Regions from separate parts of the Homo sapiens genome. Here all the other regions are linked to region 3. The links are contacts of gene promoters, found by promoter capture Hi-C in blood cells and fetal thymus (Javierre and others, 2016). All regions are on one chromosome and are shown on one strand. The core of a region is centred on a gene start or on the middle of the fragment in contact, and the rest is flanking DNA. Distances in the headings are between cores, read along the strand shown. Region 1 has its middle 5.8 kb from the start of ABHD6. Region 2 holds the start of DNASE1L3 (deoxyribonuclease 1L3). Region 3 holds the start of FLNB (filamin B).

Region 1 (3,783 bases), core at 738-3,237, 220 kb after region 3:
GTTGAATTATGATCTATGAGAATCTTGGGTGGTTTACAGAGAACATCCTTCTTTGAACATGCTTGTAGTGAAGTCACACCAGCATCTGGCACTGCCATAGCTCATTTGAGGGTCCCGGCTAAACATGGAGCTTTCAGGTTCAGCTCCTCAAAGTTACAGCTGGCCAAGTTTAGTCTCCCAATATTGTTTATGGGTACGATATACACATTTGTTCTCAGGACAACACTGCATTTCACATTTATTTGTTGCTTACTGCCCCCTACTCTTATTTTGATACATGTCAGCCCAACATATGAAAAAGTCTGTTTTATCCAGAATAGAGATGAGTTGAGAAGGCTGCATCTGGTCTACCATATGCTGAGATACGATTTGGATTTTTTTTTTTTTTTTTTGAGATGGAGTCTTGCTCTGTCGCCAGGCTGGAGTGCAGTGGCATGATCTTGGCTCACTGCAACCTCTGACTCCCTGGTTCAAGGGATTCTCCCACCTCAGCCTCCAGAGTAGCTGGGATTTTAGGCACATGCCACCACGTCTAGCTAATTTTTTGTATTTTTAGTAGAGACAGGGTTTTACCATGTTGGCCAGGATGGTCTCGATATCCTGACCTCATGATCCGCCCACCTCAGCCTCCCAAAGTGCTGGGATTACAGGCATGAGCCACTGTGTCCAGCCTCCAATTTGGATTTTAAAAGCTTAAAGGTGGGATGGTGAAATTTCACCATAATGTTTTTGGCGTATTCCAAATTATTGAAGCAGTTTTGAATCTCAATTTTCTTCCTAGCTTTGTTTAATTTAAAATTTAATGAGAAGTCTGAATTTGTGTTCATCTCAATTAAAAAAAAATTTCAAGGAGAGAGAACTACAGCATTTTATTAGAAAATTGCTTCCAGGCAGGACATGGTGGCTCAGGGCTGTAATCCCAGTACTTTGGGAAGCTGAGGGAGGAGGATGGCTTGAGGCCAGCAGCTCAAGACCAGCCTGGGCAACATAATGAGATGAAAGAAAGAGAGAAAGAGAGAGAAAGAGAGGAAGGAAGGAAGGAAGGAAGGAAGGAAGGAAGGAAGGAAGGAAGGAAGGAAAAAAAATTGCTTTCAGTCTCATTTTGTCAGATTAAACAAAATTGGGCCACTGTTGTTTAACCTTCTATGACTTCACCAAACTGATATTTCGAAGTCTAAATTACTTCATCTTCTCCATAAACAGATTATAAAATGCTTTGTCCAAAGCCTACTACAGTCAAGATTCTGTATGCAATTTCCTGCAACAGTCTCCAGGTCTATTTATGCTAGTAACTGTGAAATATTATTCCTTTGGTGTGATCATTCACAGGGAACCCAAATGAGCTCTTGTACTTAACCTCTTTTGTTTTAGTTTAATAATCAGGTGCAGAACTTTGCTAAAAATCAACACCATACCTCTTGGTCTCGAGATCTGTTTATCAGTCTTTCTCCTTTATTTGAAATGGGACTCTCACTCGTTAAAATCTTCTAGCATAATTTATCAAAGATCACTGAATATGTTTCTTAAGATCAGATCTAAATATCCTTTTAGTATCTTGGGCAGTAATTTCTCTTGATCTGGTAATTTGAACTAATTTAAATTTTTGTGTGCTCTTTCTCCATCTTTTCTTCCTATCCTGAGCTCAGTTTCCCTCTTTGTGATATTTTCACCTGATCAAATCTTTTTCCATGATCAAGATGATGTAATATAGGAAACCGGTAGTTTGGCTTTCCCTCTGCCATCTGTTAACATTCCATATGCTCCGTTCCTTTTGCATTCATCATTTTTATCCTAATTTGGTTTTACATTAACCTTTTCCTGTCTTTAGCAGTGGAGTCCCAATCATTCTGGGTGTTAGTATCCCTCACCTCTTATTAAAGGTCCAGGTTAATCTTTTGGAAAATTTCCATCACCTTCTGTCTTAGTCCATTTTATGTTGCTATAAAGGAATACCTGAGATTGAGTAATTATTAAGAAATAAGGTTAGGCTGGGCACGGTGGCTCACGTCTGTAATCCCAACACTTTGGGAGTCTGAGGCAGGAGGATCACCTGCGGTCAGAAGTTCGAGACCAGCCTGGCCAACATGGTAAAACCCTGTCTCTACTAAAAACACAAAAATTAGCTGGGTGTGGTGGCATGTGCCTGTAATCCCAGCTACTCGGGAGGCTGAGACAGGAGCATTGCTTGAACCCAGGAGGCATAGGTTGCATTGAGCCAAGATTGTGCCACTGCACTCCAGCCTGGGCAACAGAGCAAGATGCTGTCAAAAAGAAAGAAGGAAAGAAAGAGAGAGAGAGAAAGAAAGAGAGAGAGAGAGAAAGAAAGAAAGAAAGAAAGAGAAAGAAAGAAAGAAAGAAAGAAAGAAAGAAAGAAAGAAAGAAAGAAAGAAAAAGAAAAGAAAGAAAGAGGGAAAGAAAGAAATGTAGGTTTATTTGGCTCATAATTCTGCTGGCTGGAAGGATCAAGACTGGCCATGTGATGAGGGCCTCAGTATGCTTCCTCTCATAGTGGACATAGAAGCAGAGCATGCAAGTGTAGAGATCACACGGTAGAAGAGGAAGCAAGAGAGAGTAGGGAGTTGCCAGGCTCTTTTTATATACCAACCAGCTCTCACGGGAAATAATAGCTTACTCACTACCCCATCCTGTCAAAGGGCATTCATCTATTCATGAGGGATCTGTCCCCATGCCCCAAGCACCTTCCATTAGGCTCCACTTCCAACAATGGAGATCAAATTTCTACATGAGATTTGGTGAGGTTCAACAAACCATATTCAAACTACAGCATCTTCCCACTTCTTTTCAGGTGCTTGGCAAGCCTGAGCTTATCAGAGTGCTGCAGGTGCAGTGACACTGATCTCTCAAAGTCCTCCCTTTCCTTCCCATCCAGGACACTCTCTGGCCTAGTGCTATGCTCAACTGGCATTTTCAGTGAATGAATCAATATAGTAGGAATTACAGTCTTAGAACTTCCTGATTAGTGAGTCCTTTCTATGATTATATACTACATATGACATGTGTTGACATATGTTGACTTGTTGTCTTGTGATATGTTCTTATTACTTAACTCTTGCACTGATGTTCTTTTTTTCAGGTGTATATAATTTAGACTGTTCTCCTTAAAGGAAGGGGTAAAATTGTATCTACCATAGCTTGGGTCCTATGCATAAGTAAATGCTTGTAAACATTTAATTCACAAATAAATGAATAAGCAATATTTTAAGGCATTTGGAAAGAAATATTTTTAGCCTAAAAAAGTTATTACTTCATAAAATGCTCAGTACAAGCTTTTTAAGGTGAGATTTTGTTGTATTCTTCTTATTTAATTCCATTACTTGTCATGGCAGCAGGTGGCTGAATGGTTAGAATATAGATTTTGTGCTCAGACATACAAAACTTTGTTTGAATTCTGGCAGTATCGTTGACTAGCTGTGTGACCTTGGTGATATGGTTTGGATGCTTGTCCCCTCCAAATCTCATGTTGAAACGTGATTCCCAGTATGGGGGTGGGCCTAATGGGGGTGTTTGGGTCATGAAGGCAGGTCCCTCATGAATAGATTAATGCCCTTTGGTAGGTAGGGGTGGTGGGTGAGTTCTCATTCTATTATTTCCCAGAAGAGCTGGTTGTTACTAAGAGTCTGGCAGGTGACTGGATCACAGGAGCAGACGCCTCATGAACGGCTTAGCATCATCCCCTTGGTGATGAGTGAGTTCTCAGTCTGGCAGTTCACATGTGATCTGATTGTTTAAAAGAGCGTGGCACCTCCTTTCTTACTCTCTTTT
Region 2 (3,921 bases), core at 721-3,220, 200 kb after region 3:
GTTGAAAGTTCTCAGGACCGTGGCTAAGGGAGCTGGACTCCTGGGCAACACTGGCTGTGTGAACTGGTGGTCAAGTGCGGGATCTCACATTACTTTCAGTTCCCAGGGGTTTTCAGATGCCCTTGCACTTGACCTTGAGCCCTAGAGGGCCCACCCTTCCCCATGTTACCTGTTCAGCTTCTCCATCAGTATGGGGCAGATCCTGTTGTTGCTGTCCTTGATTTCCATCACGAGTATGATGTCACAGCGTTTGATGACCTGCAAGAAAGAGAATTCCCAGGGGTTTGAGGTCATTTACCACAGATAAATAAAACCTTTTATTGGACACTTACTGTTTTTAAGTATTGCACTGAGTGCTTATTAAAATAATTTCTTCTCTGAACTAAATGAAGGACTCCCTGAGGTAGGTAGGTGCTTTTGTTATGTACATTTTAAAGAGGAGCGTGAGACTCAGAGAAAGTTGAGTAAATTACACTCCCAATCACCCTACTAGAAAATGGCGGAGGCAGAATTTGAACCTATGTAATTCAAGCCCAGAGCCCCTTGCTCATGACCTCCCCACAATATCCTGCCTCTTGGCTTTGCTTGAATAATTACAATAATAATAATAAATATTTATTAAGCCCTTAGTAAGCAAAGATAACAGACTGGATTAGAAATAAAGAGGTATAATTATAATGATAATAATTATAAAAGCTGACATTTACTGCAAACCTACTCCGAGCCTTACAACAACCCTGTGGGGTAACTATGCTTATTAGCCCATTAAACATAGGCAGAAACCAAGCTCAGAGTGGTTGAGTGACTAGCTTAAAGTCATACAGCCAGGATAGGTGGTAGAGTCAGGATTTGAACTTAGGTCTGCGTGACTACAAAGCCCACCATGTTGAACTGTTAAAATACAGTCCCAGCCGGGCACGGTGGCTTACGCCTGTAATACCAGCACTTTGGGAGGCCAAGATGGGCAGATCACCTGAGGTCAGGAGTTCGAGACCAGCCTGGCCAACATGGTGAAACCCGCCTCTACTAAAAATACAAAAATTAGCACCTATAGGAGGTGCTTGGTCAATGGGCGCTAGGGATAATCCTATTCTGAATGCCTGGCATTCTCGGGTGACTGTGAGTGCCCTGTAGGGTAGCTCTTGCAGTGTTTTGGGGATGGCCTCTTGGTAGGATGGGGAGGGTGAGGCAGCCTTGACAAGGACTTCGGACATGCTCTGCAGGACACAGCTGCTCAGGGGAGATGCAGAGTTCAAGCCCCCATGATGGACTCACCAAGGAACAAAAAGACAGCCGGGTTTCATCAGTGAGGAAGGAGATGGGAACTCAGTGGCTACCCAGGCTCCACGGGCCATGTGTGAAGTGGGGAAAATCATTGCCTTGCATGTCAGGGTTTCCCATTGAACAATCTTGTCATGGCTCCCACAGGCTTGGCATTGCTATCCTGGCTAAACAACACCATCTAGAAGGCCTTGGTTACCTCCCAAAGGGCAGGGCCACCTGGGTCTGAGAGGCTCGTCCAAGGAAGAACAGAGCCTGCCAGTCCTCACTCCAATCCTCCTTCCCAGTGACAGCAACAGCAGCGGCTCTGGCTCATGAATACCCACCTTGCTGCAGGCTCTGCTGGGTGCCTCAGGCACCCTGAGTTCTCTTCACCAGCCAGTGCTACAGGTGGTATTTGGATGTGGTCGCCATTTTACTAGGGGAGCTGGTGGTTCAGGGAGGGGCAGGGCCTCCCAAGCTCACAAGTCTGGTAGGTGGAATCTGGACCCAGGGCTCCTGGCCCCCCTACCACACCATGGTGTCTCAGGTTTCCTAAGGTAATAAGTACCTTTCCAGAGTCCTGGGAAAGGGTTAAGTTGCCAGCATCAAAAATTAATTAACCTGTAGGATAAAGGGAGTCAATTGACTCCAGAGAAAGCAAGCAGTGTCCCCGGACATTGGGTATATCACCCAAGGAAAGCGTAAGCGAAAGTGGAAGGAGTGGGGAAGTAGAGGAGAGGGAGAGAGGAAGGAAGGAGGAGAAGAAGAAAGAAAGACAAAGAGAGGGAGGGATGATGAGGATGGGAGAGAGAAGGAAGGAAGGAAAAAAGTAAGGAAGGGAAAGGAAGAAAGAAACAAAGAAAAAGAGAAAGGAAGAAGAAAGAAAAGACAGAAAGAAGAAAGAAAAAGGAAGAAAGAAAAAGGAAGAAAGAAAAAGAAAGAAAGAAAGAGAGAAAGAAAGAAAAGAAAGAAAGAAGAAAAGGAAAGAGAGAGAAAGGAGCTGGGCTTTGCTGGTGAAAAGGAGTAGCTGTATAAGGTTACTTCATCTTTCTTTGTTCATCACCTCTACATGGGGAGTAATAGTCCCTCTTCATAAAGATTATGAAGTGAAACCATGTGCTTATAGTGCCTGATACAGGCATTCAATAAATAGCAATAAAAATCATAATGGCTAACCCTTATCTGGAACGTATAATGAGCCAGATACTACATTAAGAGCTTTCCATTTGCCAACTCCTGTAGTCCCCCCAGCAACCCTGGAGGGAACCATTGTTATCACCCCTGTTTTAAGATGACGGCAGGAGGTACAGAGAGTTGAAGTGGTTATTGTTCCAAGCCAGCTTCTACATTCCCCCTAAGGGCCAACTTTAAGTTCCTTGAGTCTCTTAAAGTCTGCAGACAGGAGAGAGGGTGTGAGGGGTGTCTGGGATCCTCCTCCCAGGAAAGGGGCTCACCTTCACAATGACATCCATGGCATTCTTGTCTTCCTGCTTGCTTTCCCCAAAGGACCTGACGTTGAAGGAGCAGATCCTCATGGCCAGGGCGCTGTGGATGGAGAGGAGGAGAAGCAGCAGTGGGGCCAGCTCCCGTGACATCCTGGCGCTGCTCTGGCTTCAAGACTCTGTGAGAAGACAGCAGTGCTTGGAGTGCTGGATTCTGGCCACTTCCGCAGGCTCCACTGACTTATAAAGCCTGCAGATAACAGGAATTACTGGATTTCTCCTTGCAACTTTCAGTTCTCTGAGGAACTGAAGATCATGGGTTTTAATCCCCAAGGAAATACAGATACATTGGGCTAGCCTTTAAGGAGCCCTTATGTTCGTCACCCTGGTGCAGAAATTGGCATGCCTCATTTAGGCGCCATCCTCCACAAAGTCACTCATATCCCAACCGGGAGCCAGCTCTGACATCTAGTCATCGGTCTTGCGGTTGCATGCCATGTGCCTTTTCCTGACAGTGGATGAACTCGGAAGTGGTCCACCCTAGAGGGCACCTGGGGTGACGGAACCTTCTGCTGGGGGACAATGAGGCAGGAGGCATGGGAAATTCTGCTCGGTTTTCTCTAAATCACTGGGATTTGGCGGCCTGCTGTCCTCAGACACACCCAGACTGTGACTCTAATTGCCCTGGTGGTGTAAAGTAAGGTCAAGAGTAGTTTGAATTACTTAATTTTTTTAGGCAGCTTTACCGTACAAATACTAGGAGTGTGTTGCCAGAGAAAGCAATTGGGGATCTGATGGAATGGATGAGGAAAATGTCCCTGGACTCTGCGAGCAAATAGCCCGTGAAACCCATGGAGAGACCCGTGATTGAAGCTGATATTAATTTAATATTGGCGAGAGTTGTGTGACCCTGGGAGAGAAAGGTCTTGTAAGAACTGTAGGATATCAACTCAAGCAAAATGACTTTTAGAGATATGGGCAGGAAACTATGAAGATCTGTAAAGCAAAAAAAAATTAAAAAAAAAAGCAAAATCCAATCAAGGTATATTAATGGACTTTGGCAAAGACAATTCTGTGAAAAGGGTAGGGAATAAGAATAACTCCAAGCCAGCATCGGGATCTGTGGACCAACCCCTCTTGTGGTGATGGGTCTGTGGCCACAGCCACAGGGAAAATTATACATATATCCCCAACATACATCCAGGCAGCATACTGG
Region 3 (3,846 bases), core at 829-3,328:
CCACGCCCAGCTAATTTTTTGTATTTTTAGTAGAGCTAGGGTTTTTTCATGTTGGTCAGGCTGGTCTCGAACTCCTGACCTCAGGTGATCTGCCCACCTTGGCCTCCCAAGGTGCTGGGATTACAGGTGTGAGCCACTGCACCCGACTTGAAAGAAATTGCTTTGCACTGTGCTTGGCACAGAGGAACAGCAGGTGTTCATTCAATGCTTGCTGTTGTAATTATTCAGGCTTTTATCAACAGAGGGCTGGCCTGAGACTCTGCCATATCTCAGAACCTAGCACAGAACCTGGATGAGTACAGAGTAAGTGCTCAATGTATGCTGTGGTAGGCAGAGTAATAGCCCCCAAAGACGTTCACATCCTAACTCTCAGGACCTGTGAACATTCCCTTAAATGGCAAAGGGGAATTAAGGTTGCAAACAGGATTAGGGTTCTTAATCGGCTGATTTTAAAATAGGGAGATCATGTTGGACTAACCAGCTGGCCCAATGTCATCTTAAGAGTCCTTAAAAGGGCCAGGTGTGGGGAGGTTGAAGCTGCAGGGAGCCGAGATTGAGTCATAGCACTCCAGTTTGGGAGACGGAGTGAGACAAAAAAAAGGCTGGGCAAGGTGGCTCATGCCTGTAATCCCATCACTTTGGGAGGCAGAGGCTGGTGGATCGCTTGAGGTCAGGAGTTCAAGACCAGCCTGGCCAACATGGTGAAAGCCCGTCTCTATTAAAAATACAAAAATTAGCGGAGCGTGGTGGCGGGTGCCTGTAATCCCAGCCACTCAGGAGGTTGAGGCAAGAGAATTGCTTGAACCCAGGAGGAGGAGGTTGCAGTGAGCCGAGATTGCACCACTGGACTCTAGCCTGGGCAACGGAGTAAGACTCCATCGCAGGAAAAAAAAAAAAAAGGAAGATGTGCCTATGGAGAGAGGACTGTCTGAGGTCTGAGAGACTCCACCTGACATTGCAGGCTTGCTTTTCTGTTTTTTTTTTTTTTTTTTTTTTTTTTGAGACGGAGTTTTGCTCTGTCGCCCAGGCTGGAGTGCAATGGCACCATCTCAGCTCACTGTAACCTCTGCCTCCCAGGTTCAAGCGATTCTCCTATCTCAGCCTTCCCAGTAGCTGGGATTACAGGTACGCGCCACCACACCTGGCTAATTTTTGTATTTTAAGTAGAGATGGGGTTTTACCATGTTGGCCAGGCTGGTCTCGAACTCCTGACCTCAGGTGATCCACCCACCTTGGCCTCCCAAAGTGCTGGGATTACAGGTGTGAGCCATTGTGCCCAGCCCATTGCAGGCTTTCACAGAGAAAAGGGGCAGGAGTCAGGCGCGCAGGCAGCTTCTGGAAGTTAGAAAACACAAGGAAACAGATTCTTCCCTACAGCCTCCAGAAGGGAATGCATCCTGCCAACACTTTGTTTTTAGCTCAGCAAGACCTGTGTGGGCCATCGAACCTACAGAACTGAAGGATAATACATTTGTGGGTGTGTGTTTTCAAAGACACTAAGTTTTGGTAACTTGTTACAGCAGTAACTGGAAACTAAGACATGCAACAAGCCTTATTGTTCATTTTTACCACCACTACTGGGCTGTTGGTTATGGTGGAATTACACTTTTCTCTTCCATTAGGCTGTGTGAACTCCTTGAGGTTGTGCAATACGTTTGTCTGATTTACTACTGGTTAGCAGGCTCTGAGAAGAATGGCTGGTACACAGGCGGAGCTCAATAAAAGCCCTTACTGAATTTTATTCAATCTATATGTGGATGAAGACCTCCGCCCCGCGCGCCCCTCCCGCAAGTCCCACTGAGGCCCGACCCATTCTGTCCGGCTCCCAGCCCCCGCGGGTCCCCCCACCCCGGGGCTGACCGGGTGATTCAGGCAGCCCTACATCCTGCTGGGGTGGTGGGCTTCGAGCGCGGGTCCCAGGACGCAGTGGGGCGCAGTGCCTGCGGCAGGCGGCAGGAGGCGAGCGTGGCCCAGGAACTCCCGCGGGAGGGTCGGGACGGGGCGGGGCTTGGGGGCGGGGCGGCTCAGCGCGCAGGCGCGGGGCCAGGCGCCTCGCGCGGCCAGGGGCGGGCGGCCGCAGAGCAGCACCGGCCGTGGCTCCGGTAGCAGCAAGTTCGAACCCCGCTCCCGCTCCGCTTCGGTTCTCGCTCCTTCGGCCCTTGGGCCTCCAAACACCAGTCCCCGGCAGCTCGTTGCGCATTGCGCTCTCCCCGCCACCAGGATGCCGGTAACCGAGAAGGATCTAGCTGAGGACGCGCCTTGGAAGAAGATCCAGCAGAACACGTTCACACGCTGGTGCAACGAGCACCTCAAGTGCGTGAACAAACGCATCGGCAACCTGCAGACCGACCTGAGCGACGGGCTGCGGCTCATCGCGCTGCTCGAGGTGCTCAGCCAGAAGCGCATGTACCGCAAGTACCATCAGCGGCCCACCTTTCGCCAGATGCAGCTCGAGAATGTGTCCGTGGCGCTCGAGTTCCTGGACCGTGAGAGCATCAAGCTCGTGTCCATCGGTGAGTTCTCTGGCCGGGCCCAGGCGCCCACTGTGGTGCCGACCCGCCCCCGCGCGTGCACCCCTGCGGAGGGCGAGGATTTCCCGCAGCGCGCCCCCACCTCGGAGATAAGGGGGAGTCGTCCCCAGGGGTGGGTTATAGGGGGCCTAGACCCCCTCCCCGGTGTCTTCCCCTGGGATGGGACCTGTTGTGATCGCTCCCCGCCATCCGCCCCAGCAGTGCACCTTTGGCTGGCTAAGGGTTGAGGGTTTGGGCTGGGGTCACAGGAGGAGAGGTGGAGTTGTTGCATTTCTCTACACCTGGGGCGCCCCTATGGGAGCTAGGGGACTAGAAACCCTCGTTCGCTGTCCCCGGGGGCGGGCCCTAGGGTCAGATGCTCCGCGGAGTGCTCTCCCTGCTGCGCCCAGGTTGGTGCTCTCAGAGGCAGCTGAATGGGCGTTGGCTCGGAGGCCGGGCCGTGAGACCTGAGGAGGAACCGTTCTCTGCGCCTGGGGCCTCCCTGCCCAGGTGGAGACAGAGACCTGGTACCTTCCCCTGCCGTCGCTGGAATGGGTGTGGGCCCCGAGGTTGCAAGGGTAGGCGCGGGTGTGTGTCCTCGCTCTCTCTGCTCCCAGCTCAGCTCTGGCCGCGCGCCGCAGGTTGAACCCACTCCTTGCTGCCGAAGTTATAATTTAGAGATGGTGGTGGTAACAGTAATTGCTGTCTTGTAGGGAGCCCAACTAGCGTCCACTGTGTACCGTCAGCCTTCTAAGTTATCTCCGTCCCTACGCATCCTGCCATCTGGGGTGAGGCTAGACCCATTTTACAGATAAGGGGGTCCGGAGGGTTAATTGACCTGTCCAAGGTCAGCAAGTAGGGCCCAGCTGAGAACTGAAGGAAGTGGGCAACAGTTAGAAGGAGGCTTTGTTTTCCTCTCCTCTCCCAAACCTACACCAGGGTCTTCCTGAAAGGAGGGAGGGAATTGGTGTCTCTTGCTGGACTGGGCCTTCTGGTCTGGGGAGGAAGAATAAGGATGAAGTCTCCCTTGTGGTCTGAGATAGTTGGAGGCTTCCCAGAGGGCCACAAGGCTACTGATAGTGTGGGCTGTGATGGTAGGGGCTGTGATGTGTGTGTGCATGTGGGCGTTTGTGCAGAGAACGTGTGTACACACATAGCATGTGTGTATAGCATGTGCATATGCAAAGAGTTTGCATGTACACGGAATGTATGCAGAGAATGTGTATCCACCTACACGTGTGTATGGGTGTGTGTATGTGTGTGTGTGTATGTGGGTGGGTGGGTGTGGGTTGGGGCAGAGGAGGGTTCTGGGTCTGGATCTCTTCCTAAGGAGAAC

The links. Contacts are between HindIII fragments. The CHiCAGO score rates a contact against its expected background, and 5 or more counts as called.
Region 1: a fragment that was not itself captured here is called in contact with the fragment with the promoter of FLNB in region 3 in 4 of 17 cell types (naive CD4 T cells, erythroblasts, fetal thymus and 1 more); the score reaches 7.0 in naive CD4 T cells.
Region 2: a contact is called between a fragment that was not itself captured here and the fragment with the promoter of FLNB in region 3, in 1 of 17 cell types (naive CD8 T cells). The highest score is 5.3, in naive CD8 T cells.

Annotation. Positions count from the first base shown.
Region 1 is chr3:58,230,141-58,233,923 of GRCh38, forward strand. No RefSeq gene overlaps it. Among named protein-coding and RNA genes, the nearest start is that of ABHD6, 5.8 kb to the right of the region's middle. The HindIII fragment of the contact is 2,595 bases long and covers 691-3,285 here.
Region 2 is chr3:58,208,049-58,211,969 of GRCh38, forward strand. It overlaps DNASE1L3 (deoxyribonuclease 1L3), which reads right to left and starts at 2,924. Exons shown (of 8, transcript NM_004944.4): 1 at 2,718-2,924; 2 at 170-258. The coding sequence starts at 2,858. The HindIII fragment of the contact is 7,867 bases long and covers 1-3,921 here.
Region 3 is chr3:58,006,344-58,010,189 of GRCh38, forward strand. It overlaps FLNB (filamin B), which reads left to right and starts at 2,079. Exons shown (of 46, transcript NM_001457.4): 1 at 2,079-2,513. The coding sequence starts at 2,222. The HindIII fragment of the contact is 11,042 bases long and covers 1-3,846 here.